Regions from separate parts of the Homo sapiens genome. Here region 1 is linked to region 2. Evidence: promoter capture Hi-C in human tissues and cell types (Jung and others, 2019). All regions are on one chromosome and are shown on one strand. Each heading gives the region's core, a stretch centred on a gene start or on the middle of the fragment in contact. The rest is flanking DNA. Distances are from core to core; before and after follow the strand shown.

Region 1 (3,112 bases), core at 543-3,042, 130 kb after region 2:
TGGTCTTGAACTCCTGACCTCAGGTGATACGCCCACCTCGGCCTCCCAAAGTGCTGGGATTACAGGCGTGAGCCACCGCACCCGGCCTATTTCCACATACTTTCAATATAAAGCTTAGAGGTTTCTTTTCTTTCAATTTTGAAACAATCTTAACACACAGTAGAACTGGAAGAACAATACAAAGAATTTTTTTTTCCGTGAACTATTTGAGTTTTTTTCCCTGAACTATTCACTGAACTATTTGCCAGCCTGATGCCCCATCACCCCTAGATACTTTGTACAATATTTTTAAAAAACAAGAGCTGGGAAAGGTGGCTTACACCTGTAATTTTAGCACTTTGGGAAGCTGAGGTGGGAGGATCATTTGAGCCCAGGAGTTCGAGACCAACCTGAGCAATATGATGAAACCCCATCTTTATTAGTTCATTTTCACACTGCTGATAAAGACATACCCGAGACTGGGAAGAAAAAGAGGTTTAACTAGACTTACACTTCCACATGGCTGGGGAGGCCTCAGAATCATGGCGGGAGGTGAAGGGCACTTCTTACATGGTGGCAGCAAGAGAAAATGAGAAGGATGAAAAGCAGAAACCCCTGATAAACCCATCGGATCTCATGAGACTTATTCACTACCACAAGAACAGTATGGGGGAAACTGCCCCCATGATTCAAATGATCTCCCACCAGGTACCTCCCACAACATGTGGGAATTGTGGGAGTACAATTCAAGAGGAGATTTGGGTGGGGACACAGAGCCAAACAATATCATTCTGCCTCTAGCCCTTCTAAGTCTCATGTCCTCACATTTCAAAACCAATCATCCCCTCCCAACAGTCCCCCAAAGTCTTAACTCATTTCAGCATTAATCCAAGAGTCCACAGTCCAAAGTCTCATCTGAGACAAGGCAGATCCCTTCTGTCTATGAGCCTGAATAATCAAAAGCAAGCTAGTTGCTTCCTAAGATACAACGGGGGTACAGGTATTGGGTAAATACAGCTGTTCCAAAGGGGAGAAATTGGTCAAAACAAAGGGGTTTCAGGGCCCATGCAAGTCTAAAATCCAGCAGGGCAGTCAAATTTTAAAGATCCAAAATGATCTCCTTTGACTCCATGTCTCACATCCAGTTCACACTGATGCAAGAGGCAGGTTCCCATAGTCTTGGGCAGTTCTGCCCCTGCAGCTTTGCAGGGTATAGTCCCCTTCTGGCTGCTTTCATGGGCTGACATTGAGTGTCTGTGGCTTTTCCAGGCAAATGGTACAAGCTGTTGGTGGATCTACCATTCTGGGGTCTGAAGGACAATGGTCCTCTTCTCACAGTTCCATTAGGCGGTGCCCCAGTAGGGACTCTGTGTGGGGGTTATGACCCCACATTTCCCCTCTGCACTGCCCTAGCAAAGGGTTCTCCATGAGGGCCCTACCCCTGCAGCAAACTTTGGCCTGGACATCCAGGTGTTTTGATACACCTTCTGAAACCTAGGCAGAGGTTCCTAAACCCCAATTCTTGACTTCTGTGCGTCCTCAGGCTCAACACCACGTGGAAGCCACCAAGGTTTGGGGCTTGCACCCTCAGAAACCATGGGCCGAGCTGTACTTTGGCCCCCTTCAGCAACAGCTGGAGTGGCTGGGACACAAGGCACCAAGTCCCTAGGTTGCACACAGCATGGGGACCCTGGGCCCAGCCTATGAAACCATTTTTTCTTCCTATGCTTCCAGGTCTGTGATGGGAGGGACTGCCATGAAGACCTATGACATGCCCTGGAGACATTTTCCCCATTGTCTTGGTGATTAACATTCGGCTCCTTGTTACTTATTCAAATTTCTACAGCCAGCTTGAATTTCTCCTCAAAAAATTGATTTTTCTTTTCTACCACATTGTCAGGCTGCAAATTTTCCAAACTTTTATGGTTTCTCTTTTAAAATGATTCTCCTGCCTCAGCCTCCCGACTGGCTGGAATTACAGGTGCATGCCACCACACCCAGCTAATTTTTGTGTTTTTAGTAGAAATGGGGTTTCACCATGTTGGCCAGGCTGGTCTCGAACTCCTGACCTCAGGTGATCCGCCCACCTCGGCATCCCAAAGTGCTAGGATTACAGGCATGAGCCACTGTGCCCGGCCTAGTTTTTATATTAATAGGTAGGCCTTTTATCTGGTAATTATTCTATCGGTTTTTCTTTGTAGGTGACTATATAATCTGCAAGTAATCACAGTTTTCCCTCTTATTTTTCAATCCTCACACTTTTCCGTTTCTCTGAAATGTCAGCAAGAACTCTAGGACTGCAGGGAGCGGTGGCTTACACCTGTAATCCCAGCATTTTGGGAGGCCGAGGTGGGTGGATCACTTGAGGTCAGGAGTTCGAGACCATCCTGGCCAACATGACGAAACCCCATCTCTACTAAAAATACAAAAATTAGCTGGATGCGGTGGCAGACACCTGTAATCCCAGCTACTCAAGAGGCTGAGGCAGGAGAATCACTTGAACCTGGGAAGAGGAGGTTGCAGTGAGCCAAGATCGCGTCACTGTACTCCAGACTGGGAAAAAGAGCAAGACTCCATCTCAAAAAAAAAAAAAAAAAGAAAAAGAAAGAACTCTAGGGCTAAGTTAAGTAGTATCCGTGATTTCAGGCATCCTTGAGTTGTTTCCAATCTTGGAGGTACTTAAAGCTTGTCCTATAAGACTATATTTGGGAGGCTGAGGCCGGCGGATCACCTGATGTCAGGAGTTCGAGACCAGCCTGACCAATATGGTGAAATCCCATCTCTGCTAAAAACAATACAAAAATTAGCCGAGCATGGTGATGGGTGCCTGTTGTCCCAGCTACTTGGGAGGCTGAGACAGAATTGCTTGAACTCGGGAGGCAGGAGGCAGAGGTTGCAGTGAGCTGAGATCACATCACTCTAGCCTGAGCAACAGAGTGAGACTTCATCTCAAAAAAATATATATATACACATATGTGTGTGTGTGTATATATATATATATATATATATGTATGTATATACACACATATGTGTATATATATATGTATACACATATGTGTATATATACATATATATGTATATATACACATATGTGTATATATACATATATATATATGTATATATACACATATAT
Region 2 (2,910 bases), core at 31-2,530:
CTCAGCCCCCTATCTCTTAGGCAACACAGTGGGAGCAGGACGCTAGGGCTGCAGAGTTTGGAGTCTGGATTCAAACCCTGGTCCCACCACTTACTTAAATTGTCTAAGCCTCAGTTTCCCCATTTGTAAAATGAAATGATGTACATGAGATGTCAGAGCAGGTCCCTCTACGCACGGTAGGCCTTCAAAAAACAGTTGCAGTATCTACACTGAGGCTGGGACCCAACCCCTGCCTCCCTGGGCAGCTGGGCCCACCTGAGCGGTCTGACTTTTTCCCAGGGCCCAAAGCCCTTCCTGGCCCAAGAATCGCCCCCTCTTTTGATCTCAAGGAATTTCACCCTCCACCCAGAGGCCTTTGTAAAGGCCCCGCCTTCGACCCCATTATGTGTTGAAAAAGAGTCATAAGGCACAATGGGGAGTGGGGGAGGCTTTCCTCGGCCTCCTGCCTTTCTGCTGAGACCTGCGTTTAACCCTTTCTTACCAAGACTGGGCAGGGAAGCAGCCCTGGGAGGCCCACCTCGCAAAGCCTAAAGGGGGCGGCAGGCTCCTTCGGCTTCGCGGGCTCCAGAGCTTTGCCCCACAGCTGCGGTGCCCACAGTGGGTGCCCACACTTTGACACCCACGCGGGTGTCCTCTGTCTCCTCCCGCCACGCCCCCCATTCCAAGCGCCTCCTGCCCTCTCCTCCTCCCAAACCAAACTGCTTTAGACCCCACCGGGTCAGGTGGGACGCCTGGGAGGGCGCCAGGCCACGAGGCCTTGGGGTTGGCAGCCCAGGTCTCTAGAGCTACGGCTAAGGAGGCACCAGGAGGGGCTCAGTCACGGGGCACCAAGGGCAGGTGCCCAGACAGAGCGCAGGGTCCCAGGCAGCGGCTCGGGAGGTAGGAGACCCTGGGACTGCAGGGCGGTCCCGAGCGCGGTCCCCTGAGTTCGCCGGCTCCGCGGGCGCCACGTCCAATCTCCTGTCCCGCCCAGAGCGCGCGCCGGGAGCTTGGGATGCGCGGGAGGACAGGGGCAGGACCAATTGCAGGGCGTCCCGAATGGGCTGCTGTGGGCGGCGTGGCGCTGGAGACCCCGGCCCTGCCATTAAAGTTCAACCACGGGGCCAGCGGAGGATGCAGAAGGGGATGGACCACGTCCGCTGGGGCCCTGGGGAACCAGGGCGCGGGGCAGCGTCGAATCCTTACCTGCGCAGAGCACTGGCGAGGGTCCGTCCAGGCACAAGCGCGTGGGAGCACGGAGCCAGGATAGCGGGCGCGGAGTGGCGGGAGCGCAACGCGGCCCGGGCCACCACCCCCGCCGCCTTATAAAGGCGGCCGCGGGGCCCGAGTGAGGCCCGGGCAGCCCGCCCCCTCCCCCGCCCCCGGCCCCAACCCCTCCCCAGCCCGGCCCCGGCCCCGCCCCCGGCCCGAGCCCCGCGCCCCGCGGGCCGGTCGTGCCACGAGGCCAGGGCGCCCCCTGCCGGGAGCGGAGCTAGGAACGGGCTGGGGTGACGCGGCCCTGGCGTCCCTCGCCCGCCCCGCACTCTCGGTCTCTCTGCCTCCGGGCTGCCCCAGCCCAGCCCTTCCTCTCTCAGCGAGCCTGGGCTCTGACCTGCTCCTTGCGCGCGTCTCCTGTTTTGTCTTTACCGTCGGCATCTTCCTTCTGCGTCTCTTGGTGGGAGTCTTTGTCTCCACCCGTCTCTTTGTCTGCCTTCCTCTCTGGCGTCTGTCTCTGTGTCTGTCAACATATCTGGCTTTCTCTGGGTCTCTGTCTTTATCCGTCTCTGCCCACGTGTCCCTGTCTCTCTGTCTCTGTCCACGTGCACCTCTGACTCTGCACCCCCACCCCCGCTTCCCTGCCCGTGGGCTGCCTCCCTGGCTACCGCAAGAAGAAGCAGAAGGGGACCTCGGAGGGGTGGCATCTGGAGGGAAACCACCCCCTAGACAGGGGCCCTTCCCTCTTTCTCTCTTTAGAGACGTAAAGGGCCCGCAGGTGTCCGGCTATGTCCCAGCCAGAGCCCCAGGACATGCTCCCTGGATGCCAGAGGAGGGGCAGGCACTTCCCAGGCAGTTGAGTCAGACAGCTCAAGTTCAAAACTCTGCTCTGGTGACCTTGGCCAAGTCACTTGACCTATGTGGACCAGCCTGCCCCTCTTTAACAGGCAGACACCATCTCCCCTGGCCTCTCGCTGGTGCGAGAGTCATATGAGACAGTGCTTGAAAACTACAGAGGAAACGCTAAAATCCCGGATAGACGGGAGCCAGGGACAGAGGCTGGGTGCTACAGGCCCTGCTCCCGCTCCTGGGGAACCAGCTCTGATGGAATAACCACTCCCTTTCCTCTGAGCACTGAATTCTCTGGGCAACTTCGCAGTGAGAAGTCCGCAGGCTCTGTTTGAATGCCTCCAGCGACAGAGCTCACTGACTCCTAACAGGAGGGTCTTCTCAGTGGCCCTTGGGAAAATGTCTGCCCAGAGAACCAATTTTAGCCAGGTCAGGCAACCTCTCTTCCACTCACTCCATGCCAGTCTCAGGGCCAGGCACTGTGCATGCATTAACTTCCAAAAGCTCCATTTTCCAGAGGAGAAAACTGAGGCCCAGAGAGATCATGTGACTTCTCAGTAAGGTTGGAGCCAGAACTGGGGCCTGGTGCCAGAAACCAAGAATGTCTTTGTATTTATTTTTGTTTCTTTTGTATTTTTGGTTGATACTGTTTATTTAGAGGCGTGACATAGGTTCCCTTTTCAGATAAGTTTATGTTTTTTAAAAGTGAGTCAAAATATTGAGTAAATACTATTTATTTATGTATTTCATGGGTTGGGTGATATGGCAAAAATCATGGAGGTAGCAAATGAATGGAGTTTAGGAAATACCATCCTCTGTAAGAAATTGCAGGTGAAAGCACCCAGCACTGGGCCTAAAACATGGGAG

The links. The method cuts DNA at HindIII sites, captures the fragments that hold promoters and counts their contacts. A contact is called where the count stands out against the background at its distance.
Region 1: a fragment that was not itself captured here is called in contact with the fragment with the promoter of ALPL in region 2 in 1 of the 25 tissues and cell types used here (mesenchymal stem cells).

The regions. Positions count from the first base shown.
Region 1 is chr1:21,374,530-21,377,641 of GRCh38, reverse strand. No RefSeq gene overlaps it. Among named protein-coding and RNA genes, the nearest start is that of NBPF3, 64 kb to the left of the region's middle. The HindIII fragment of the contact is 4,268 bases long and covers 1-3,112 here.
Region 2 is chr1:21,507,793-21,510,702 of GRCh38, reverse strand. ALPL (alkaline phosphatase, biomineralization associated) reads right to left here and starts at 1,280. Exons shown (of 12, transcript NM_000478.6): 1 at 1,186-1,280. RefSeq lists enhancers at 197-766, 767-1,337 and a silencer at 1,373-1,472. The HindIII fragment of the contact is 25,718 bases long and covers 1-2,910 here.